7 separate regions of the Homo sapiens genome follow, and regions 2, 3, 4, 5, 6 and 7 are each linked to region 1. The links are contacts of gene promoters, found by promoter capture Hi-C in blood cells and fetal thymus (Javierre and others, 2016). All regions are on one chromosome and are shown on one strand. Each heading gives the region's core, a stretch centred on a gene start or on the middle of the fragment in contact. The rest is flanking DNA. Distances are from core to core; before and after follow the strand shown.

Region 1 (3,577 bases), core at 796-3,295:
GTAATCGCAGAATAGCTGACAGCCTGTGACAAAGTAGTTTTCTCTCCTTTGAGTCAGTCTTAGATTCCTCTTTAGGCAGGAAAGGGAGCCTCAGAGAAAGCCAGTACTTGCATCCACTGTTTACTAATGTAGATTTCCTTGATAGGTATACAATTCTTTTACAAAAAAGAGCTTTTCAGAGCTATTCCTATTTCTGCAGTTTCTCTGAATAGCCATCTTGAAATATGACAAAGTATACTTCGGGGTGGCATATTTTAGTCTCCCACAAGAGCCACTCCAAACTAAGATTCAGAGATAAAATCAGGTTCAATAAATATTTTTTGTGTACCTAATGTGTTTTCTGGGGCACTGTCCAAGGCCCTAGAATATATTACTGCATTTAACCTTTAAAGCAGTCTCTTGAGGAAAGTAAAGTGAAGGAAATAAAAATATTTTACCCCAAAAGATATTTCTTTGCCCTATTTTGAAATGGCTGCCTCAGGGCCCGGAGACCGATGAGGCCCTGCAAATCAGTCTTTTGTGGGGGAAATTTCCATTTGTTGCCAGGCTTTCCCTTTCTAGTCCTTTCCTGGATCTAGGAGAGATTAACTGAGAGTCTGATCCTTTTTTATTTTTATTTTTTAAGAGACTGTCTTGCTCTGTCACCCAGGCTGGAGTGCAATTGTGCAATCATAGTTCACTGCATCCTTGAACTCGTGGGCTCAGGCAATCTTCCTGCCTCAGCCTTCTGAGCAGCTAGAACTACAGTTGTGCGCTGCAACACCCACCTTTCTTTTTATTTGTTTTTCGTAGAGACAGGATTTTGCTGTTACCCAGGCTGATCTCAAACTCCTGGGCTCAGGGAATCCTCCTTCCACTGCCTCCCAAAGTGGAGGGCATGAGCCACCACGCCCACCCTGACAAGAGACATTTACCATCTATTTTTTCTGAGGACTACTAGCTATGTGTTTTCATCTACATAACAAGACCCGCCCCCCTTGCTAGCCAAGTCTCTTCCTTTCTCCCTCCTATAATCTGTTTTCCCAGGTTCCAAGCTTGCACTCTTTCTATAATCTCAAGGTGATATATAAACTTCTGTATCTCATTGGTGGGTGGGTCCTCATTTTGAAGTCTCCCGTGTCTATGTGCTAAATCAACCGGCCTCATGTCCGTGATTTTCAGCAAGCTTCCAGGGGACCCAAGGGCAGTGCCCGTTTCAGTTAAAAATGGCATCTCATTTAACCTGTAATCTAATTGTTAGTTATGGGGTTCTGGAGATGCTATCCCCAAAGGACAGCATGTGCAGGAAGGACTTTGGCTTTCCCCTTGAAGCGGATTGACCTTGGATATAGATTTGCTGACTTTCCTCGGAGAAAGTGAGACCCTTGTGAGATGGGTCACAGAGGACAAGTGAAAAGGACCGTCTTAGAAGACAAAGGACACTGCAAGGAATCAGAATGAACAACCCTTGACGACTTTCCGCCAGTTTATCCCTGCTTTAAAGTTGATTTAAGACAGTCGACCAATGGTGTGACAGCTATCCTCAGTGAGAATGTAAGTGGCTCTGAAAAGAGCCTTTGGAAGCTTGGAAGCAATTAAGAAACCCAAGATAGAGCAGGGGATTATGCTCGCTCGCCACGGATACGACGCGCAAGCTGGATGTCCTTAGGCATAATAGTGACACGCTTGGCGTGAATAGCACAGAGGTTGGTGTCTTCAAAGAGACCCACCAGATAGGCCTCGCACGCCTCTTGCAGCGCCATCACCGCCGAGCTCTGGAAACGAAGGTCGGTTTTGAAATCCTGCGCGATTTCTCGCACCAGGCGCTGAAATGGCAGTTTGCGGATGAGCAGCTCAGTCGACTTCTGATAACGGCGGATCTCACGCAAGGCCACGGTGCCTGGCCTGTAGCGGTGGGGCTTCTTCACACCGCCAGTCGCTGGAGCGCTTTTGCGCGCTGCCTTGGTGGCCAGCTGCTTCCGCGGTGCCTTGCCGCCGGTAGACTTGCGAGCTGTCTGCTTCGTCCGGGCCATAGTTGAGAAAGCTATGCTCTGAAAGCAAGCAGCTGAATGAGCAGTGGCTTCTACCAGAATTTATAACGATGATCTGATCCTGATTGGTCAGAACTGTTGTAGGAAAAACCTGGTTGGTTGTTAATACTATCTTCATTTGGTTCCTGCCACTTTTTTTTTTTTTTTTTTTTTTTTACCTGACGGCTTCTAATTCTGTCGCCTAGGCTGGAGTGTGGTGGCGCGATCTCAGCTCACTGCAACCTCCGCCTCCCGGGTTCAAGCGATTCTGCCTCAGCCTCCGGAGTAGCTGGGACTACAGGCACTTGCCACGACGCCCGGCTAATTTTTTTTTAGCAGAGAAGGGGTTTCACCATGTTGGCCAGGCTGGTCTCAAACTCCTGATCTCAAGTTATCCGCCTGCCTCGGACTTCCAAAGTGCTTAGATTACAGGCGTGAGCCACTGCGCTCGTCCTCCGCGCCACTTTTATTTATTGTTTTCAACCAATCATGTTAAGATTCCCCCAATGAAAAGATAATCTGACCTAGAATTTGTGTAGGTCAGTCGTAGTCTTAAACTCATTTCCAATGGGTCATTTTTCCTATTTCGGATCGTGTAAAAATACATACAGTAGAACAACGTATTTGCTAGTATTTCCAAAAAGTAGTTCCGTTTTGTAACTGCTTAATTAAATCTTTTAATGACTGTACCAAGACCCAGAACAAAAACAATTTAAACTTAGGCTGGCACATTCTCTAAAACACCAAAACTTTAGTTTTGTCCAGTGTGGTGTGGGGAAGGAGTTTGATAGGTGCTTGACTAAATGATACCAATAAATGGTATCTGACCTCTTCATTAACTGAGTTTAATGCAATCCAATGGCTGATTGGATTAATTATGTAAATTATTGCTTAATTTCATTAGCATGCGCGGAATTACAGGTTTGGGTCAGTGATTAGATTTTTGCCAGTGAATCTGGGTAGTTCTGACAACAGCATTTTATTAGGATGGAGATTTTAGTTGATCAAAGAACTACCAGGTTCTGGTATTGATAAAGACCCATAAAGACAACAAAAAGGTTAGTTTAACATTTATTATATTCACAGGAGCAAATGATCACCAGAAATACTTTTGTTTGGGTTTTGTTTTTCTTTTTTTGAGACGGGGTCTCGCTTTGTCACCCAGGCTGGAGTGCAGTGGCGAGGTCATGGCTCACTGAAATCTCAAATTCCTGGGACTCAAGTGTTCCTTCTGCTGTCAGTCCGCCAAATACAGGCGAGGGCCTCGCGCCTGGTATTTTTTTTCTTTCTTTTTTTTAGATGGAGTCTCGCTCTGTCGCCCAGGCTGGAGTGCAGTGGCGTGATCTCGGCTCACTGCAACCTCTGCCTCCTGGGTTCAAGCGATTCTCCTGCCTGTCTCCTTAGTAGCGCTCGCCACCACGCCCGGCTAATTTTTGTGTTTTTAGTAGGGACAGGGTTTCACCATGTTTGCCTGGGTGGTCTCGATCTCTTGACCTTGTGATACACCCTCCTCGGCCTCCCAAAGTGCTGGGATTACAGGCGTGAGCCACCGCGCCCAGTCATTTTTT
Region 2 (3,577 bases), core at 1,078-3,577, 1.9 Mb before region 1:
AAGGGGGTCCCAACCCAGACCCTAAGAGAAGGTTCTTAGATCTCGTGTGAGAAAGAATTTGGGGCAAGTCTACACAGTAAAGTGAAAGCAAGAAAGTAAAGGAATAAAAGAACGGCTACTCTACAGGCAGAGCATCAGCTTCTGGACTAAGGATACTGATATGGTTTGGCTGTGTCCCCACCTAACTCTCATCTTAAATTCCCACATATTGTGGGAGGGACCTGGTGGGAGGTAATTGAATCATGGGGGCAGGTCTTTCCCTGAGTAATTTATACTGCTGTTCTCATGATAGTCAATAAGTTTCATGAGACCTGATGGTTTTATAGAAAGGAATTTCCCTGCACAAGCTCTTTGCCTGCTGCCATCCATGTAAGACCTGACTTGCTCCTCCTTGCCTTCTGCTGTGGTTGTGAGGTCTCCCCAGACACGTGGGACTGTAAGAGCATGAAACATTTTTTCCTGGTATAAATTACTCAGTCTCAGGTATGTCTGGATCAGCAGTGTGAAAATGGACTAATACAGATACTTACAGTTATTTCTTGATTATGTACTAAACAAGGAGTGGATTATTCATATGTTTTCTGGGAAAGATGTGGGCAATTCCCAGAACCAAGCGTTCCTCCCCTTTTTAGACTATATAGGGTAGCTTCCTGACATCGCCATGGTATTTATAAACCACTATGGAGCTGGTGGGAATGCCTTCTAACTTGCTAACACATTATAATTCGTGTATAATGAGCAATGAGAATGACTAGAGGCCACTCTTGTTGCCATCTTGATTTTGGTGGGTTTTGGTCAGCTTCTTTACTGCAACCTGTTTTATCAGCAAGATCTTTATGACCTGTGTCTTGTGCCAACTGCCTATTTCATCCTGTGACTTACAATGCCTAACTTCCTGGGAATGCAGCCCAGTAGGTCTCAGCCTTATTTTACCTAGCCCCCATTCAAAATGGAGTCATTCTGGTTTGAACACCTCTGACAATAGGACAGATCTGGAATGAGCCATGCCTGGGTACAGAGTCACATCCACAACAATGAAAGTTGTAGATATCTGCAAGGACTCATCGTGGGACCAAGGATTCAGGGGCTCATTCTTTCTCCTCTCTCTGTGTGCTGGTTGCCTCAGGAGTAGAATGTCCCATGCTATGCATGGGGTCTGCAACCATCATGCCAGGGCATGATGAATCGTAGGTGGCAAAACAACAGAAGGCTCTGTGAGCACCCAGGAGGGTGCAGTGCTGAAGAGTCTTCTGCTTGGTATAGGAAGAAAGGAACGTGTTTCCCAATCTTGCCTTTATTTTGAGTAGTTGGACCAGAGGGATTGCAGCTGGGCCAAACTCCATGTTCCATTGGCTATCAGGGTCAGCAGGCAGGCCAGGGGCCCAGACAGGCCAGTGGCTCCCAGAATTCAAGTTTAATTTCTCCTCCCACCTGTGTCCTGAGCTCCCCTTACTGGTTCCCTTGGACCACTGCATCTACTTAAGCCAGCATTTATTATGTTGTTATCATAAATGCCTCTTACACCTGAGACTTATAAATGTGACAAGCTCTTATTGTGAGATAGTAATCCATCTTTTTTCCCCATGAAATAATAATTCTAACGGGTGGTGATAGTACTTTTCCTTTCATTTTGAAGTGGAGAAGCTGGAGCTAAGTCATTAAGGACTTGACCCTGGACCCCACAGCCTTTTCTCCACAAAGCACAAAGCAGAGTGATGGTCCCAGGGATCCCACACAGCTCTAAGCTGGGGGCACTCACTGCTGGGCCACTAGTGACTCCCATTTTCTATCCTGGCTGACCCTCGCTATTGAAGAAGATCTGAGTCCTGCAGAAGGACAGCAAGGAGAAAAACAAGACACAGAACGGGACAGAGAAGAATAGAAAGCTGACTCAGATGAATTTTGTGATGCCAATGAGTCCTACTGCTGTTACCACCCCTTTTTCCACCACACCCTTCAGAGCAGTTATAGAACCACAAGCAACCCATAAATAGCAAAAGAAGTAACATCAGCTAGGAAGGCTTAAGGACTCCCAAGGGAGTTGGTGGCAAAAGTAGAAAGATCTCAAATCAGAGTCTGTGAACTGAACCTCTGCAGGCTTCCTGTTTTTAGATACTCTGTGTTGGGGTCACATGATAGTTTACAGGGTTATTAATTGGTTCCTTCTTTTTATTGCTGTAAAAGAAGGATATTTTCTTCCTACGTTTCCCCCTCCTTTACCGGAGAGGCGGAGTGCAAATGATATGAACAACGTCACTAGTTTTCTCCTAAATCTTATGAGCCCCGCCTCCCACAGTAGTTTCACTTCTCAGTTTAATCCGGTCTGAGTTAACTTCCTGACCCAGGAAGTGGCAGCAACAGAGGGGACTAGCAGCGAATATGTAAGTGTCTGAGCAGTGAAGGTTACGGAAAAGGTCCAGGCTAAGGTTTTCTCAGTGGATATGTGAGTGTGTACTGATGGCAAGTGGGGTGGGGAATATATTTCGTGACAGCAGGGCCCCTCCAACTCTGAAAATGGTCAGGACTTTCTTTGTTTTACAGCTCTCACCTCTTTCCTGCTCTTTCTTTCACCAGACTTTACACCAAATCTCAGAAGATTCAGAACTTAGATGAGTGGGGCCCAGGACAGGAACCCTGGAGCCTTGGAAGGAGGGGAGCCCCATCTCCCCAGAAGAGCAGTGACCCCAGCAGAGAGGGGCCTGGTGTATCACTGGAGGAAATAGCCTGCCAAGGAATACACGTCTTCAGAAGAAATTCTGTGTGGCTTCAAGAGACTGATCAAATTGTGAGAGGAAAACAGCCTACCCGGTAATTGTAGTTAAATTACTGTTTTTTATTCTAGGCACTCTTCAAACTTCCTCCTGACTCTGCCCCTGTCCTAGAGGAGCTCCCAGGAGTAGGGGTGTGGGGGCGGGCGGGGGGGAGGGATCGGGGGTACAGGGAGAGCCCAGCTAGGTTCTCAGAAGAGGCAGGCTTTTTCGCTCCTGGTCACTCCTCTGTTGCCTATCCCTGGCCTCCCCCATCTTCTTTCTGCCTTCCCTACCTCCTTGGGTCTGCAAACTCTTTATGTTGCAATCACTCTGAACATGTCTCTTGAGATAGGTCCTGTCCTGGAGAAGAGATAGTAAAAGTAAACTCCCCAGTTCTGCAGGAGCTCTGATCCCATAGAAATAACTGCTCCTCAGGAGCAAACCCTCTGCTCTGCAGCCTTCTTTCCAATTCTTATTCCCTCAGTTTAGGGAGAGGGCACAAAAAGGATAAACCGGTTCTTCTGGTTGTTCTGGTTGCCTTGATTGCTTCCATTATCCTCCTGGTTGGGTCTCTAGCAAGACGTTATTAGCCAGGGAAGTCCCACTTAGGCACCCCTCTCTGCAGAAGAGGTATTCACTATTCTCCTTTCTCTTTCTTTTGCCTATTATACCTCTGCTCCTGAAAGCAAAAACAACAACAACAAAAACACAAACAAAAAACAACCGACCTTATTAACCAGTGTTGGTTGTTGTTCTTTGTGGGGGATGGGGGGGGTCGAGGTGGAGTCAAATTTTATTGTCATGATGGTGTAGGAGCCAAGGGAACA
Region 3 (3,577 bases), core at 366-2,865, 1.9 Mb before region 1:
CCTCCTTCTCCTCCTCCTCAGACCTTTGCTCCTTTCCTGGCTGCACCATTTCCAATTTATTTTCATGAAGCTCTGATCCCTGTTGACTAATTTTCTTCCCTTAAGTGAGACAGAAAGCCTAGATGAGGCTGCAGTGGGAAGAATTACCTTCTCCCAGCTGGGATAAGACTCTGGCAAAATGTTTTCCCCTTGAGAGTAGGCCTTTGTTTTGAAGAAGGTTCTGGGGTGTATTTCATAATAATTCTTCTCTCCCTGCCAAAGCCACAAGAGGATCCTTCTCAGATCTTCACTGCAGGAACCTGGTGGGCTTTCTGATGCCCACAAAAGTGTGGGAGCTTCTCACTCTCATGGGCATTCACAGTTGGCCTCCAGCTTTTTGTCAGAGTTACCAATTTAAATGTTCTCAAATGTGATACTGTCTCAACTTCCAGGACATCACACACTCATGATTTTCTACTATCCTGACATTTGCAGTCTTTTTAGCAGATCTCCCTCCCTCTCCCTGCACCATGGGTATTGGTCATCTCAGGATCTGTCCCAGGCTTTCTACTCTTCATGCCCTTTGAGACAACACATGATCTGACCTGCCCTTTCAGGAAGAAATGTTCTGTCTACCTACTTGCTCCAGTTAAAAACCCTAGTGTCATCTTTGACCCTTCTCATCCCTACATCTAATCTGTTGATTCTACCTCCTAATTTTCTCTCAAACGCATCTATTTTTCTTCAATTTCAGTGCTACTCTCTTGCTCTAATTGTACATCATCTTTTTTAGAATTACTGTGACATTTTCTTGCCTCCAGTTCTGCCTCAGTCCATCCACTTCACAGCTAAATTTTGGATGTACACTTTTGAACTATTACTGTAGCAAAAGTAATATGTAATAACTGTAATGCAGAAATATAAAATATGCAATATAAAAGAAATACATGCATAAATGATCCCAACACTAAGGAAACAATATTGATCAATAATTAAATAATTGGTGGATAGTGAATGACAACATAGAGCAAAGTGTTCAGTAGGTTTTAAAAGCTGTGGGTTCAATAAATGCTCATGAAGCTTGTTCAGGGGCTTGCAAAATATGTAATTTGAATTTTTAAAGAAAAGGAATTTCAGATAAGAAAAAACATACATAACATGAAACAATACTTGTGGTGGTTTCAGGGAGGTCATGTTCTCACATTCAGGTGCCAAGGCCACCGTACATCCGGACACTGAGGCCACGGACTTGGTCTGCAACCTCCATGACAGCCTTGTAGATTTGAAACCGAACTCCAAGGAGCAGTTGTGCTGTGAGTTCCAGAGTTTGGGGACAGAGGAAACACCATTCTTTGGAAGTCTAACTTCCTTAAGAGGTGTCCCTTAGACATCTAGTGTCCGGTGTTATGGAGGTCCTTGTGCTCTGAGGAAGGAGCCCCTTGTTGATTGATGGAGCAAAATTTTTTTAAACAAGGAACTGTACCCGTATCTGGGCATGAAGCCAGAGAAATCCCTGAGGGCAGGGCCAAGGCTCTCAAAGATTTTCAGGGAGATTCCCAGCCTTTTTAAGTCTCGCCTATTCTTTTTTTTTTCTCTAACTGGCCATTTTGTATATATGGAGGTTATTGATTTTTTTGCTTTTATATCCTGATATTTTAATAACTGTTCATTTTTTAGTTATTTGAATTATCTACATTGATTATTTGAATGTTCTTTTTTTTGTTTTTTTGAGACGAAGTCTCGCTCTGTCGCCCAGGGTGGGGTGCAGTGACAGGAACTTGGCTCACTGCAACCTCTGCCTCCTGGGTTCAAGCGATTCTCCTGCCTCAGTCTCCTGATTAGCTGGGATTACAGGTGCCCGCCACCACACCCAGCTAATTTTTGTATTTTTACTAGAGATGAGGTTTCACCATGTTGGCCAGTCTGGTCTCAAACTCCTGACCTCAGGTGATCCACCCACATCGGCCTCCCAAAGTGCTGGTATTACAGACATGAGCTATTGCACTTGGGCTTTGAATTTTCTACGTATCTGACTTCTACGAAGAAAACTATAATGTATTACTCAGATAAATTAAACAGGAAAACTAAATAATGGAGGAGTATATTTACAGTTGAAGCGGTCAATATTTTAAAGGTATTAATTGTCCCCAAACTGATCTACAAAACCATTGTAATCCTAATCAGATTCCCAATAAGCTTTATTATAGAAATTGACAAACAGGGTTCAAATTTAATACACAAATCCAAGGGCCCAAAATAAACAAATCTGTTGCTTTATTAAATATCAAAACTGATAAAATGACAATAATCAGGGCAGTGTTGTCCAAAAATAGACAAACGAATGGAACAGGCTCAAACAAATATGGACATTGATTTACATCTAAAGTGGCACCATACAACAATGGTGAAAGGACTCTTGTAAATAAATGGCATGGGACAATTGTATAGCCTTTTAAACAGAAAAAGAACAAAAAGGAAAAAAAAAGAAACTTGACCCCCTACTTCACACTATACACAAAAAACAATTCCAGGGGAACTAACATGAAAAGCAAAATAAAGTTAAACATGAAAAGCAAAATAAAGTATATGGTAAAAAATTTATCTTACCCAAAAAGAGGTCTAGCCTTTGCCCTCAGCTACTGGGAGATGAATTTTAGACCCTTGAAATGTTCTCACTGATAAGTGTGTCTTTGTTTACCTGGAGGTTTTGACCACCACACAGTCAACAATGTGATTTATAATAGGAACTTTGAGCCACACAGTATCAGCTCTACCTGTGGAGGTAGACTAAAAGATCGGCCATGTGAGCAGTCAACCATGGCAGGCCATTAAAACTGCACACTGAGGCTCGGGTGAAATACAGTTCTCTTGTATACGGTTTCTACATGGTTTTAGTTCCTGTGGTCTACTGCAGTCCAAAAATAATAAACGGTAAATTTCAGAAATAAACATTCACCTAACTTTTATACAGTATATTCTTAACAATTATTCTAATTTATTGTTATTAATCTCTTACTGTGCCTAATTTATAAATTAAGCCTTATCATAGCTGTGTCTGTATAGGAAAAAACAGCTATATAGAGTTCAGTACTATCCATGGTTTCAGACATCCACTGGAGGTCCTGGAACATATGTTTTGTGCATAAGTGGGGACTGCTCTGTACGTCATGTGTATTGTCACACATTAATGCTGGGAAAGTAATACTGTTCATATTACTGGGAGAGGACAACTGGAAGCTCATATTTGGAACTTGCCTGGATTGTGCCTATATTAGTTTCCTAGGGCTGCTGTAACAAAGAGCTAGAAGCTAGGGTGGCTTAAAACAACAAATATATTCTCTTGTAGTTCTGGAAGCTAGAAATCTGACATGAAGGTATCATTAGATCTATGCTTCCACTGAAGCCTGTAGGAAAATCCTTCCTTGACTCTTCCTAGCTTCTCGTACTTGCTGGCAACCTTTGACATTCCTTGACCTGCAGCTGCATAACCTCAGTCTCTGCCTGTGTGTGTCTGTCTTCACGTGACCACCTTAGAAGAATACTAGTTCTATTAAAAAATATATATATACTACTTCTTCTAAGTCACCAGCCCATCATA
Region 4 (3,577 bases), core at 323-2,822, 1.8 Mb before region 1:
CATTTTGAGTGAGGGCTAGGAAAATGAGGCTGAGACTTTCTGGGCTGCATTCCCAGAAAGTCAGTCATTCCTAGCTTCTAGATGTTTACGGTTAAGGGAACAAATAAATAATGTTTACTAAACAGACTCAGACTTAGGAGTGTCCAGATATCCCTATATCTGGAGAACAAAGGCATTCTTAATTTTGTTTAAAGATAATAATGTTGATTCTTGCAAAATATAGTAACTAAGAAAATTAATCCTTTATCACAAACTTGTAGCAGAGCACATCTCCCCATATATACAAGTATTGTACCTAGGGTGGATGCCTTCCTCCTCTTACTTTCGGGAATGTCCTGCTCCGTCTATGGAGTAGTTGTCGTTTCACCACTTTACTTTCTTAGTAAACTTGCATTTACTTTGCACTGCGGACTCACCCTGAACTCTTTCTTGCGCGGGATCCAAGAACCCTCTCTTGGGGTCTGGATGGGGACCTCTTTCCTGTAACATATTTCTGGCCACCACAGAAGGGACTATAGTACAGAAACCCTGACCCAACAGCTACCTTTGGGTAAGTGTTGGAGTTCTGTAACAAAGGAAGAAGGCAGGCAGGCAAAAAATTTATGAAAGAACATACGACAAAATAATTTCTGCTTCAAAACTTCATATTTTTTTAATTTTTTTTTTTTTTTTTTTTTGAGACGGAGTCTCGCTCTGTCACCCAGGCTGGAGTGCCATGGCGCGATCTCGGCTCACTGCAAGCTCCGCCTCCCGCGTTCACGCCATTCTCCTGCCTCAGCCTCCCGAGTAGCTGGGACTACAGGCGCCCACCATCACGCCCAGCTAATTATTTTGTATTTTTAGTAGAGACGGGGTTTCATCGTGTTAAGCAGGATGGTCTCCATCTCCTGACCTCGTGATCCGCCCGCCTCGGCCTCCCAAATTGCCGGGATTAAAGGCAAGAGGCACCGCGCACGGCCCCGTCCAAGTTAACCTTGGCTCTAAAACTTGTCTTCGCTAACATTCCAGTTGATCCTCTAGAACTGAAACAGAATAGCAGCAGCACCACCTTAAGAAATTGTGGTTATAGCTCTCCTTGTGACAAAGTAGGTGGCTCTGAAAAGAGCCTTTGGGTTTGGAAGTGCTTACATAAGCACTTATTTAGAGCTAGTGTACTTGGTAACTGCCTTAGTGCCCTCGGACACAGCATGCTTAGCCAGCTCCCCAGGCAGCAGCAGGCGCACAGCCGTCTGAATCTCCCTGGAGGTGATGGTCGAGCGCTTATTGTAGTGAGCCAGGCGAGAAGCCTCGCCCGCGATGCGCTCGAAGATGTCGTTGACGAAGGAATTCATGATCCCCATGGCCTTGGATGAGATGCCGGTGTCGGGGTGGACCTGCTTCAGAACCTTGTACACATAGATAGAATAGCTCTCCTTGCGGCTGCGCTTACGCTTCTTACCATCCTTCTTCTGCGCCTTAGTGATAGCCTTCTTAGAACCCTTTTTAGGGGCTGGAGCAGACTTAGAGGGTTCAGGCATTGCTATTCCTAAACAGAATAGAAAAGCTACTAACACTCTCCACTACAGAGTAGTACAGAGAACAGTTCAGAGCCCATGTATTTATAGTCCTGAGATTCAAATGACGGTTTAAGATTCCTCACTTCTGATTGGACAAAAGAAACACGGTTTCACTGAGGGGTGGGGTTTATGCAAATATGGAATTTATGTTATCTTTTTCTATTGGATAAAGCACCAAACATAATTGACCAATAGGATAGCTTCCTATTGCAGCCTTGCAGTTTGTATAAAAGGATTTGTTCAGGCGCCATTCCAGCTTGCTTGTCTTTCACAGTTTTCCGCTGCTTTCATAGGTCGCTATTTGCGGACGTGGAAAATGGAGCTAAAGCAAAAACTTGTTCGTCGCTACCGGGCTTGCAGTTCCCAATAGGGCAGAGTCCGTCATCTTTTTCGAAAGGGCAATTATTTTGAGCCGGTCGGAGCCGGTGCGCCAGTGTACTTACAATACCTGGCCGCCGAGATCTTAGAACTGGTGGGCAGCGCCATACGTGACAAGACCCGCAGCATCATCCCCCGCCACCTGCAGCTGGCCATCCGAAACGACGAGGAGGTCAACAAGCAGCTGGGCAACGTCACTATTGCTCAGGGAGGCGTCCTGTCCAATATTCAGGCCGTCCTGTTGCCAAAATAACAGAGCCACGATAAGGCCAAGGTCAAGTAAACACTCAAATCAGAAAACGTAGCTTACACTTGAAACGGCATTTTTCAGAGCCGTCCATAGTTACACAAGAAAGGATGATAACTTGCTTCTGTTAGGGTATTTTTTGCTTTTCGTTTGGATTGGTTTGTTTTGAGACAGTCTAGTTCTGTCACCCAGGCTGGAGTGCAGCGGCGCGATATCGGCTTACTGCAACCTCCACCCCGCCGCTTCACGCGGTTCTCATGCCTCAGCCTCCTGTGTACTTGGGATTACAGGCGTCTGCTACCGCGCCCAGCTAGTTTTTGTATTTTTATGCGAGACGGGGTTTCACCATTTTAGCCAGGGTTGTCTTGAACTCCTGGCCTCTAGTGATCGTCCCATCTCGCCCTCCCAAAATGCTGGGATTACAGGCGTGAGCCACCGCCCCCCTAGCCTAATGGTGTTAAAAAGTTAAGTTTCGAGAAAATAACACCTTCCTTTAGAAAGTACATTTTAGAGTATACAAAGTGAAACTTAAGGCCAACCAAAATAAGACATTTTGAGAACAGGCAGGGTGGGAATGTGACTTGGACTTAGAAAACAAAGGGCAAGGAAACTTGCTGTTCGCCAGTAACAAAATAGCATGGAATCTCATTCTCTGAATATAAGCGTTATTTCCCGACATGAGTCTGAACGTTTCTGGTGGTTTAGTGAGTGTTCACCAGCATTGATAACTTGCGAGACTGTCAGGAATGCAGAATTTCAAGTCCCACTCAAACTTACTGAATCGGAATTTACATTTTAAAAATCCTTAGATACCTTGTTATACACTCTGTTCTTTGGGACTGGATGAACTAGAATTTTAGACAATTTGTCGCTGCAGATAACTGAAACGAAAAGGACAGGATGGGCGGTGGGGCAACTCATCCAATAAGATTGTCTAGTAATGAACCAATCAGTCTGGTCACTCTTCAGCCAATGATTTTATCGCGCGGGACTTTTGAAATATTACAGGACCAATCAGAATGTTTCTCACTATATTTAAAGGCCACTTGCTCTCAGTTCACTACACTTTTGTGTGTGCTCTCATTGCAAATGGCTCGTACGAAGCAAACAGCTCGCAAGTCTACCGGCGGCAAAGCTCCGCGCAAGCAGCTTGCTACTAAAGCAGCCCGTAAGAGCGCTCCGGCCACCGGTGGCGTGAAGAAACCTCATCGCTACCGCCCGGGCACCGTGGCCTTGCGCGAAATCCGTCGCTACCAGAAGTCCACCGAGCTGCTGATCCGGAAGCTGCCGTTCCAGCGCCTGGTGCGAGAAATCGCCCAGGACTTCAAAACCGACCTGCGTTTCCAGAGCTCTGCGGTGATGGCGCTGCAGGAGGCTTGTGAGGCCTACCTGGTGG
Region 5 (3,577 bases), core at 726-3,225, 1.8 Mb before region 1:
ACTGGCAGTGCCTGCCTCAAAGAGTAAGTGTTAGTGTTGCTATCTGCTTGAGACCAACAATACAGGGACTCCAGGATATTTTCAGCCTAAATAAGATTGTAGGGGCTCTTGTCTGTTGCCTGGCTTCAGCCCCATAAACTTTTTTTTAACATATAACCCAGAGCCACAGTTTTGCTCATATTTCAATCTTTGAAGGCAAATGGCCAACAATTAGATTAAACCTGAGGCTAAATATTTCCTCACCTCAAGGGCTGAGACGAAAGTTACTGCATCTGTATTCCCTAACACGCCCTCAAAATGGGTTGCAGAAAACAACAGAAAATATACTAAAGCACACAGTAGGAGCATAATAAATAGTGATTAGCTGGGTGCAGTGGCATGCGCCTGTAGTTCCCGCTACTCTACTCATGAGGCTGAGGCAGGAGGATCACTTTTGCCAAGCAGTTTGAAGTTGCAGAGAGCTATGATCACAACACTTCACTCTAACCTGGGCAACAGAGCAAGACTCTGTCCAGAAAAATAAATACATAAATATAAAATTTAAAAATATAAATAAATACATAGAGAGTATTACAAAAGGAACAATATATTGCAAAATATATTTACCTAACATTTTGAAATTGCCATTATAATTGTATAAGTGACATAGGAAACTGGGTCATTAACAGCTATCTTATTCTTCAAGCTTCTTTCAAATGATGTCAAAGCATTTCAGAAAGTCAAACCTACCCTCAAAGGATAAGAATTTGTCAATTGTGAGGATATGCACATTTTTACACCTTCTCAATCTGTGTCTATATGAAGGCAGTTATAAAGCACAAGATGCAAACGTATATTAGGCAATAGTCTTCATCAGAATAAGTACATAACCTGACACAATGACTATATTGGAAGAAACATGGAAATGCAAATTTCAATAGATTGGTTGACATTATTTTTTAATGTCTAGTTTTTTACTGTGCTGTGTTTTTACACACTTAATGAGCACTTGTTAAGCACAGGACACCAGGAGAAATAATAAAAACTAAGATCAGCCTAGCAGTGTGTCCTCTCAAGAACTTATACCTGGTGGGACAGATACAGACAAATATAACCATCATACAGTGTGAGAAATCGATAGAAAAGACACAGCCACTGAGAGCACAAAAGAATAAAAACATAAAATGTTAATGTGCTGGCTAAACGTTTGCCTTCAAGTATTTACCAGTCTAGCTGGGAAAATAAGACAGAAGACAACAGCCTAAAATAGTGGTTCTTAAACATTTAGATATCAGGACTTCTTTACACTCCTAAAAACTATCAGGCCTCCAAAAAATATTTTGCTAAATATAGGCATTTATCACTTTGGAAAACAAAGCTGAGTATTAATTATTTAATTATTTATATTAATATTTATTTGATAACCTTTAAAATATTATAAAATTAATATTTATTTATAATGCATATATGTGATTATATAGTTCATATGTAGCCATATATTTATCATATATACCATAGATTTATGTTATATATTACATATGTATGAAGAAAAAATGGAAAGTAAACCCAAAAGTTCCCCATTCCCTAACCCATTCAAAACCCTGGAAGTCCCAGGCTAATCTGAAACTTGTAAAACTGCCTGCATGTAGAGAGCACAGCTGAGCTGGTAGTGTGGAAGAGCAGAAAGACAGCAGTTCTGGAGCAAGGAAGCTTTATATTTAATCCCAGTTTCTCCATTCATGAGCTTGGTTACCCTGCCAAGTTCCTTCTCTGTAAAATGGGAATAATACTCCCAGAAATACAGTGAGGATTAAATTAGATAATGTGCATACAGTTCCTGGGATTGGGATCAGCACACAGTAGCCTCTCATTTGAGGCATATTTGCATTAGATCCTTGCTGTATGATATCCTTCTGTTTCTTTCTTTTTTTTTTTTTTCCTTTGGTGACCCTAAGAAAGATGGTACTCTCCTTAACTTGGAGGGCTGGATGCGAAGAGACCAAATCCAACAAGCTGGTTCATTCTTTCTAATTATGTGTGCTTCCCTTAGCTGCCTCTGAAAGGATACAGGCCCTAGGTACTAGCCCCAAGAAGCCTAATGATAAGAGATAGAGCTGGACCACCAGAGAAGAGATGAGTGTGTATGTGTGTGTGTGCAAGCAATTATATGTGTGCATTTAGGAGTGGTAGGTGTGTAAACAGTCTAGAACACTCATTCTCACTGTGATGTGAGGATGTATCCCCACATCACTGTTCTGGGAGCTCACTCCTTGTCCATCATCCAAGCTTATGATGGACAATTCTTTCCCAAGTGGGAAAGAATTCTGATGACACTCACATAACTACCCAGTCCCAACTTTCTGTATCCAAGGTGTGTGCATACCTTTGATAGCAGGCAGGTGTGCCTAGCCAATATATTAGGAGCATGGTATTCCAGCACTCTGCACTTTTTTACTATAGAATTCATCTCAACCTGCTTACATTACATGAAAGTTTTGATTGATATCAAATTTTTATTATGTTTGCTTATCAAAGGATTTGTAATTATGCTTCAGTTGATACATAGATTGTTTATATTTTTCATGGTTACTTGAAGCACTTATATTTTCCTCATACTTTTACAAAGTAATCAAGGAAAAATACAGAGGCAGCTTAGTATATTAGTCAAAAGAATAATTAGACTGTCTTGGAACCTGGAATGTCTGAGTTCAAATTCAATTTTGCCGTTTTACCAGCTGTGTGACTTTGGGTGAGTTAATAAACCTTTTCGTGTCTCAGTGTTCTCACATGTAAAGAGACAATAATAAGCCTACCTGTTTCATGGGTCATTATGAGGATTAAGGAGTTAACATTTAAATAGTTCTTAGAACAACCTCTGACATATTTTAAGTACAAAAATATATACATATATTAAATAATAACTTTTCTAAAACATCCTACCTACAATCTTGTGTGCAAATTGGTGGCTCAATTCTGCAACTGTTGTTGGTGGTGTTGTTGTTAAGCTTTTGTTTGTCATGACTGTTATCAGTAATATTAATACAGACAGTTAACTGAACCCTTCCTCTGCACCAGGCATTATATGGACTATTTTCATTCTGACTCCCTGCATTCTATGAGACAACCACCATTGTAATCATTCTCACGTTGCCAATAAGGAAATGGAGAATGAGAATTCAGACTTCTCCAAGAAGTGCTGCAGACTGATTATAAATCATGCATCCTAAACACACACATATTAAAGTATCAACTAAATCAAACAGAATAAAACTTTTGTTTTTCTATCTACAAAATGCATGAATTAAAATATGCCCCAACTACTTAACTAATATATTTAGTAAGTAGAGGGATGGAAGCGTTTTCACTCCTTCAATACATTCTTCATCAACCTCTCTCACCTTACCCCTCTGTCACAGGCATTTCCTATGTCATGCGGTTTTTCTGATGTACGCTAGGTGGCAGTCAAAACCACGAACTCTTGAAAGAGAGTATATTCCTATTTTTCTGCAGCCTCAACCTCCAGGGCTCAAACGATCCTCCTGCCTCAGCCTCCTGAGTAGCTGGGGCCACAGGTGCGAGCCACCACACCTGGCTAACT
Region 6 (3,577 bases), core at 1,078-3,577, 1.8 Mb before region 1:
CTATAACCACTCCATGGCTTCCACAATGTGATTGGTCATTTCTTTTTTGTTTATATGACAAGTTTTTATTCTTCTTCTGCCTGTTAAATGCGCCTGACCCCCAGTGTTCTGATTTTCACTATTTTTCTTAAAAAAAAAAGTTTAAATGAAAAAAGTTTCTTATGAAAATATTAAAACATATACAAAAATAGAATAGACATTGATAATAGATCCTAAAATTCCTAGGGAAATTCAGCAGACTGAGAATAGCTAATATAGTCTTCCAAAAAAAGATCAAATTTGAAGTTGAGAAACTTCTTGAATTCAATTTACTAAAAAGCTATAGTAATCAAGACAGTGTAGTCCTGACATAAAGATAGGATTATAGTCTGGGTGTGGTGGCTCATGCCTGTAATCCCAGCACTTTGGGAGGCTGAGGTGGGCAGATCACCTGAGGTCAGGAGTTCCAGACCAGCCTGACCAACATGGTGAAACCCCGTCTCTACTAAAAATACAAAAATTAACCAGGCATGGTGGCAGGTACCTGTAATCCCAGCTGCTTGGGAGGCTGAGGCAGGAGAATTGCTTGAACCTGGGAGGAGGAGCCAGTGGCCGGGATTGGGCCACTGCACTCCAACCTGGGCAATAGAGTGAGGCTCTGTCAAAAAAAAAAAAAGATAGGATTATAGATTATAGCATAATGGGATAAAATTGAGACTCCAGAAATAAACTCTCACATTTATGGTAGATTGATTTTTGATAAGGGTGCCAAAACACTTCAATGAAAAAAGAGTCTTCTCAACAAGTGATGGTGGAACAACTGAATAACCACATTTTTGTTCTATCTGGGGCCCTGATTCAAAAACCCAGGCAAAGATGGAGAGAAATCAGAACTCTCATACACTGCTGATAGGAGGATAAAATGCTTACTTTGGAAAAGAATGTGGCAATTCCTCAAAAGGTTAAACAGTGTTACCATATGACCCAGCAAACCCACTTCTAGATATATAACCAAAAGAAATCAAAACATAAGTCTACAAAAAAACTTGTACATAAATGTTTATAACAGCACTATTCCCAATAGCCATAAAGTAGAAACAAACCAATGTCCATCGGCTGATGAATGAATAAATAAAATATGTTGTGGTATGTCCTTATAATAGATATTATTGGTCCATGAAAAACATACATAAAAACATTATGCTAAATGAAAGAAGCCAGTCACGGCAAAGCAATATATTATATGCCTCTATGTATACTAAATGTTCCAAATAGAAAGAAAGTAGATTAAAGATTGTCTAGGGCTGGGAGGGGAGGAGGAGGAGAATGGAGGAATCTGGGAGGCGATGAATTAAGGGTACTGAATTAGGGGAACATGGTTTCTTTTTGGGGAGATAGAAATGTAAAATTTTGGTAATGGTTGCACATCTCTGTAAATATACTAAAATCCATTAATTTTTGCATTTTATTTTATTTATTTTATTTTTGAGACGGAGTTTCGCTCTTGTTGCCCAGGCTGGAGTGCAATGGCATGATCTCGGCTCACCACAACCTCCGCCTCCCAGGTTCAAGCGATTCTCCTGTCTCAGCTTCCCGAGTAGCTGGAATTACAGGTGCATGCCACCACACCCAGCTAATTTTTTTTTTTTGAGATGAAGTCTTGCTCTTGTCTCCCATGCTGGAGTGTGATGGCACGATCTTAGCTCACTGCAACCTACGCCTCCCGGGTTCAAGCGATTCTCCTGCCTCAGCCTCTAATGTAGCTGGGATTACAGTTGCCTGCTATCACGCCCGGCTAATTTTTGTATTTTTAGTAAAGACGGGGTTTCACCATGTTGGCCAGGCTGGTCTCGAACCCCTGATCTCAGGTGATCTGCCTTCCTCGGCCGCCCAAAGTGCTGGGATTACAAGCGTGAGCCACTGAGCCGGGCCAATTTTTGCATTTTACATAGATGAATTATATGGTATGCTAATTATATCTTACCAAAAATTGAAAAAAAGGAATAGTACTATCAGCCCCAATGTGCCCATCATCAATATTCTACATGTTTCCAATGTTATTGTATCTGTTTGCCTACAGTCGAGGCCCTGATATCCTGTTTGATTTTCTTGAATTGCCAAAATTTGCATACATGCTTACAAAAATAATGCCTGTTGAATTTGCTAGATATGTAAAGGTTTGGAGCAAATCAGGTGTATTAAATTTATTAATATTGTTTGAAATGTCTAAGGCAATAATTCCCAAACTTCGTTGAGGGAGAAGGAAAGCTTTTAAAATCCCATTGCCCAGGTGGCATCCCATACTGTTACTGGGAATTATGCATTGGGATGGATCCTTTAACCGAGGAGATTATTATAGCCGGAGCTCTGAACCAGCAATCTCAGTTCTTGTGATAGTGAGCAAAGAACTACAAACTAACACCAAAATGCAAGCTTAAAGCAAAGTTTATTGAAGCACAATAATACACTCTGAGGGACAGCGGGCTTATTTCTGCGAAGTGAACTCAGCACTTCTTTACAGAGCTCAAGGTGCTTTTATGGGGTTTGTGGGGAGGAGTTGAGGTTTGGGCTGTATCTGAGTGACAGGATGATGTTATTTGATTGAAGTGTATAGCTATACAATCTAAAATTAAACTGTGCATGGTCTTACCTATAATTTGTTAAGAAAAGCCTCCCAGGGATGGGGGGGCAAAACTGTATGTAAATTCTATTATAATGATGGCATGATGAACTTGGGGTGAACTTGAAGACAGGCTTTTGTGTTGTTGGGCATGTGCCACCTTAGGGAATTTCCACCTGTACCCTCCTTTCTCTTTCTCCAGGATATTTTGGCCACAGACTTTATCATAAACTCCATCCCTTAGGGTGGCATTAGGGTAGTCTTGGGCCTGAATTTAGGTGGGCCAGTGGCTGTCTTAGTGACAGCCTTTCCGCTCTCTTCTGTCATCCCCTCCCAACTGCTAATGTCTAACTACCTAACAATTACCCATTAAATCAGTGTGTCTGGGGTTAGGAGCAGGCCTCAATATGTTTAATCATTCTCCAGATAATCCCAATACTGTAAAGTTTGTGAAACACTTGTCAGATAATTCAATTATGAAGGCTGTGGAAGGTGTTTCAGTAGGATCTAATTGGTTAATGTTATGACTTAATTAATTTGAATCAAAAAACAAAATGAAAAAGCTTTATATTTCTAAGTCAAATAAGACATAAGTTGGTCTAAGGTTGAGATAAAATTTTTAAATGTATGATTGAATTTTGAAAATCATAAATATTTAAATATCTAAAGTTCAGATCAGAACATTGCGAAGCTACTTTCCCCAATCAACAACACCCCTTCAGGATTTAAAAACCAAGGGGGACACTGGATCACCTAGTGTTTCACAAGCAGGTACCTTCTGCTGTAGGAGAGAGAGAACTAAAGTTCTGAAAGACCTGTTGCTTTTCACCAGGAAGTTTTACTGGGCATCTCCTGAGCCTAGGCAATAGCTGTAGGGTGACTTCTGGAGCCATCCCCGTTTCCCCGCCCCCCAAAAGAAGCGGAGATTTAACGGGGACGTGCGGCCAGAGCTGGGGAAATGGGCCCGCGAGCCAGGCC
Region 7 (3,577 bases), core at 306-2,805, 1.8 Mb before region 1:
TCCCTTCCCTGACACTGGCATTTCCAGAACTTAGATGCTCTTACATGTAAAAGCCTCCTCTAGTGCACCATCGAGCTTTTCAGGATTGGACATCAGACTTTTTAGTTCCTGGACCTCTAGATATACGGCAGTCTCTGACAAGAAGCCCTTTTTCTGTTTTAACTTTTTTTTTTTTTAAGTTTTGAGACAACGTCTGACTCGCTGTCACCCAGGCTGGAGTGAGGTAGCACCATCATAGCTCACTGTATCCTTAAACGCCTGGGTGCAGGGACTAAGGGAGCGTGCCAACCATGCTTGACTAATTTACTTTTTTGTAAAACCAGTAGTCTCCAACCTTTTTGACACAAGAGACCGTTTTGTGTAAGACAATTATACCACGGACCAGGGGGTGCAGGGGCTGGGAGCAATGATTTCCGGACTAAAACTGCTCCAACCTCAGATCATCAGGCATTAGATTGTCACAAGGAGCCTGAAACCTAGATCCCTTGCATGTGCCATTCACAATACAGTTTGAGCTTATGAGAATCTATCTAATGCTGCAGCTAACCTGACAGGCGGTGGAGCTCAGTTGGTTAATGTTCGCTCACCCCTCAGCTGTGCGGCTCAATTCATAACGTGCCATGGACAGGGACCGGTTACCGGTCGGTGGCCGGGGAAATGAGGACCCCTGGTATAGATGGTAGTCTGGCTATGTTGCCCAGGATGGTCTTGAAGCCTGGCCTGAATTAATTCTCCAATCTCAAGCCTTTTCAACTCAGCTGCATCACAACTTAAACCTATAGATAACTGTCACAGAAACTTGTTTCCAGTGTTACGCCATCTTAAAATAATGTGGGTGGCTCTTAAAAGAGCCTTTGGGTTCTTTCCAAATTGGCCTCCCGGAAAGCTCTTTACTTCTTAGATGTGGCCTTTCTAACATTAACTTCATGATGTTGGGTCAATTTTGACTTCGAAGCCCTTGCCTTCACTGGGCTCTTCTGCTGTTGCTTACCCTTGGCTCCTTTAGCCTTTCTCCCGCTCCTAACAGTTTTAGGAGTTGTCGCTCTCGGCTTCTTGGCTCTCTTATTGGTTTTAGCAGTCTTTGGTGACTTGGAGTCCCTGGATAAAACCAGCTTCTTGGTCTTGGCAGAAACTGACTTTTTAGCCTTGCTTCTGGTAGATTTAGGAATCACCTTCTTACTAAGCTTAAAGGAACCGGAAGCACCAGTACCCCTGGTTTGCACCAGGATTCCCTTGTTCACTAAGCTCTTGAGGGACAGTTTGATGCGGCTGTTATTCTTCTCTACGTCGTAGCCAGCAGCGGCCAATGCCTTCTTGAGCGCAACCAAAGACATACCTACTCGTTCCTGTGACACTGAAAGGGCCTCGGTGATCAACTTGGACACAGAGAGGTTCGGCACTTTGCGACTTGCACTTATCAAGCCAGCCGGCTTCCTCCCTCGCTTCTTGGTTGGAAGTTTCTCCATAGCGGCTACACCAGCACTGGCAGAAGCTGCAGGCACGGTTTCAGACATAACAACAGAGAAACGCAAGATGTAATAACCAGCGAAAAGCATGAAACACCCGGGCGGCCTCGGGGCCTTATATAGGGTAGGGCGCGCTGTGATTGGTGCATCACCTAGGCACCGCCCCCGCCCCTTGGAGGAGGAGTATTTGTGTTTGTTTTACCCGGAAAAGTTGAGTATAACAAAACCCCTCTTTACAGAATCTCCCAGGGTCTAGTGCTGAATAATCTGCGGAAATTCATATTTGACATGACTTTTCTCTTTTTAATGAAAAATGACCCTGGATGCCAAAACTATTCGAGAAAGCCCTCGATTTTCAATCAAATTCACGGAGAGGAACAAAACTTCCCCTTTTCCTTGTAAATTAATAAGTAATCTTTGGCAGAAGACTTATTTCATCTCTTCAGAGTGGTCTTCCAAATGGATAGCTTCAAATCGGTAGAGGAAAGAAATTATTCACGCCATGATTTTTATTTAAAATTATTTATATATGTGAGGGAAGTAACACAGATCTCTTAGCTGTCTAATTGCGGAGTCAGAAGATGCTTATAGAATTGTCAAAAGACTGCAGAGGATGTCTTTATTTAGGCATGTGCAATCTAATAAATCATAATCCACAGGAACATGGGTTGTCTGTAATTAAAGGTGCTCCCAAGTCCCTGTAGCTTTATAGAGGACTCTCAAGGATGGGGTAATATCAAGATCTCACACATTATGTAAGATTGGCCATAATCAGGCCACTCTCATGACCGGTGTCCTCAACTGAGTTTTGCTTCTGGTTTCATTAATTGAAGTCCCCTCTATCCCCCTGCCCACCCCTACATCCCCAGATAAACAGACACAGTCCCTCCCCTAAATTAACTATAAAACATGAGGTAGGAACCCTAGACTCAAGAACCTACTAGAAACTACAGACCCCATGTCTAACAAGACTGGGCGGGTTGGCTGGGCGCAGTGATTCATGCCTGTAATTACAGCACTTCGGAAGGCTGGAGGCCAGGAGTTCAAGACTAGGTTGGCCTGGTCCCTACTGAAAAAAAAAAAAATTAGCTGGGTGTGGTGGCACATGCCTGCAGTCCCAGCTTCTGGGTAGACTGAAGAGGATCACTTAGAGCCCAGGAGCTTGAGGTCGCAGCTACTGCACTCCAGCCTGGGCAGACCCTCATCTCTGAATTGCTTAATTAATTAACTGAGCTGGCAGATTTGGCTGCATAGCTGTGGGGAAAGGGTTGTTGGAATAATGTCCAGTGTGCTCCCCTGAGCTTCTACTGGAACAGGTCTTTGTGAGAGGCCTGGAGATAAGAGCTTGCTCACAAAGGCTGAGGCCTTTCTGGGATGCTGAATGAGTTTAGTGTGGCCAGAGCATAGGGTCTCAGCAAAGGAAAACTCCATAAGGGCCATTTGTGAAGATCCCCAAATACTTGTGTGAAACATTTGGTAGATATTAGAAGTTTTGTTTTGGTTTGGTTTGAGACAGAGTTTTGCTCTTGTTGCCCAGGCTGGAGTGCAATGGTGTGATCTTGGCTCAGTGCAACCTCCACCTCCCAGGTTCAGGCAATTCTCCTGCCTCAGCCTCCCAATTAGCTGGGATTATAGGCGCCCACCACCATGCCTGGCTAATTTTTTGTATTTTTAGTAGAGATGGGGTTTCATCATGTTGGCCAGGCTAGTCTCGAACTCCCCACCTCAAGTGATCTGCCCGCCTCTGCCTCCAAAGTGCTGGGAATACATGCGTGAGCCGCCGCGCCCGGCAGACATTGGAAGTTTTTAAGCAGAGAATTTGTTGTATTGTTGTAGTTGTCTTGGGTTTAGATTTATTGCATAAACAATCATTTTTGAGAAGGGCCCACAGTCAGAAGTTGGGAGTCTGTTGCAATAGTCTCAGAAGAATGGCAAAGACCTTGCCTAAGGGGACAGTGTGGTAAAGGAGAGAGTCTACATTTGAAATATTTCTGAAACAAAAGCCAAAAGATAAGACTTCAAACTTCTGATTGCAAAGTGAGATAGAAAAGTTTCTTTCTCTCTGTCTCTCTGTTATACCCATACACACACACATATGCACAAACACCTGA

What was found. Contacts are between HindIII fragments. The CHiCAGO score rates a contact against its expected background, and 5 or more counts as called.
Region 2: a contact is called between the fragment with the promoter of TRIM38 here and the fragment with the promoter of H3C12 in region 1, in 5 of 17 cell types (non-activated CD4 T cells, activated CD4 T cells, monocytes and 2 more). The highest score is 13.2, in non-activated CD4 T cells.
Region 3: a fragment that was not itself captured here is called in contact with the fragment with the promoter of H3C12 in region 1 in 2 of 17 cell types (activated CD4 T cells and naive CD8 T cells); the score reaches 6.8 in activated CD4 T cells.
Region 4: the fragment with the promoter of H2BC3 here is called in contact with the fragment with the promoter of H3C12 in region 1 in 17 of 17 cell types (total B cells, naive CD4 T cells, total CD4 T cells and 14 more); the score reaches 41.0 in total B cells.
Region 5: a contact is called between a fragment that was not itself captured here and the fragment with the promoter of H3C12 in region 1, in 6 of 17 cell types (fetal thymus, monocytes, non-activated CD4 T cells and 3 more). The highest score is 6.9, in fetal thymus.
Region 6: a contact is called between a fragment that was not itself captured here and the fragment with the promoter of H3C12 in region 1, in 1 of 17 cell types (fetal thymus). The highest score is 7.2, in fetal thymus.
Region 7: a contact is called between the fragment with the promoter of H1-6 here and the fragment with the promoter of H3C12 in region 1, in 14 of 17 cell types (activated CD4 T cells, naive B cells, M0 macrophages and 11 more). The highest score is 15.1, in activated CD4 T cells.

What each region holds. Positions count from the first base shown.
Region 1 is chr6:27,888,781-27,892,357 of GRCh38, forward strand. H3C12 (H3 clustered histone 12) reads right to left here and starts at 2,046. Exons shown (of 1, transcript NM_003535.3): 1 at 1,535-2,046. The coding sequence starts at 2,012. The coding sequence ends at 1,602. RefSeq lists enhancers at 348-992, 993-1,637, 1,279-1,578, 1,638-2,282, 1,799-2,018 and 1 more. The HindIII fragment of the contact is 2,915 bases long and covers 1,562-3,577 here.
Region 2 is chr6:25,960,475-25,964,051 of GRCh38, forward strand. It overlaps TRIM38 (tripartite motif containing 38), which reads left to right and starts at 2,328. Exons shown (of 8, transcript NM_006355.5): 1 at 2,328-2,381; 2 at 2,575-2,808. The HindIII fragment of the contact is 6,907 bases long and covers 1-3,577 here.
Region 3 is chr6:26,007,184-26,010,760 of GRCh38, forward strand. No RefSeq gene overlaps it. Among named protein-coding and RNA genes, the nearest start is that of H1-1, 8.8 kb to the right of the region's middle. The HindIII fragment of the contact is 1,116 bases long and covers 1,058-2,173 here.
Region 4 is chr6:26,042,141-26,045,717 of GRCh38, forward strand. It overlaps H2BC3 (H2B clustered histone 3), which reads right to left and starts at 1,573. Exons shown (of 1, transcript NM_021062.3): 1 at 1,087-1,573. The coding sequence starts at 1,517. The coding sequence ends at 1,137. H3C3 (H3 clustered histone 3) reads left to right here and starts at 3,244. Exons shown (of 1, transcript NM_003531.3): 1 at 3,244-3,577. The coding sequence starts at 3,271. It also overlaps the pseudogene H2AC5P. RefSeq lists enhancers at 1,817-2,056, 3,287-3,577. The HindIII fragment of the contact is 16,277 bases long and covers 1-3,577 here.
Region 5 is chr6:26,061,283-26,064,859 of GRCh38, forward strand. No RefSeq gene overlaps it. Among named protein-coding and RNA genes, the nearest start is that of H1-2, 6.6 kb to the left of the region's middle. RefSeq lists a silencer at 3,345-3,484. The HindIII fragment of the contact is 576 bases long and covers 1,688-2,263 here.
Region 6 is chr6:26,083,884-26,087,460 of GRCh38, forward strand. It overlaps HFE (homeostatic iron regulator), which reads left to right and starts at 3,546. Exons shown (of 6, transcript NM_000410.4): 1 at 3,546-3,577. The coding sequence starts at 3,558. It also overlaps HFE-AS1. The HindIII fragment of the contact is 165 bases long and covers 2,246-2,410 here.
Region 7 is chr6:26,106,580-26,110,156 of GRCh38, forward strand. H1-6 (H1.6 linker histone, cluster member) reads right to left here and starts at 1,556. Exons shown (of 1, transcript NM_005323.4): 1 at 833-1,556. The coding sequence starts at 1,514. The coding sequence ends at 891. The HindIII fragment of the contact is 5,524 bases long and covers 1,183-3,577 here.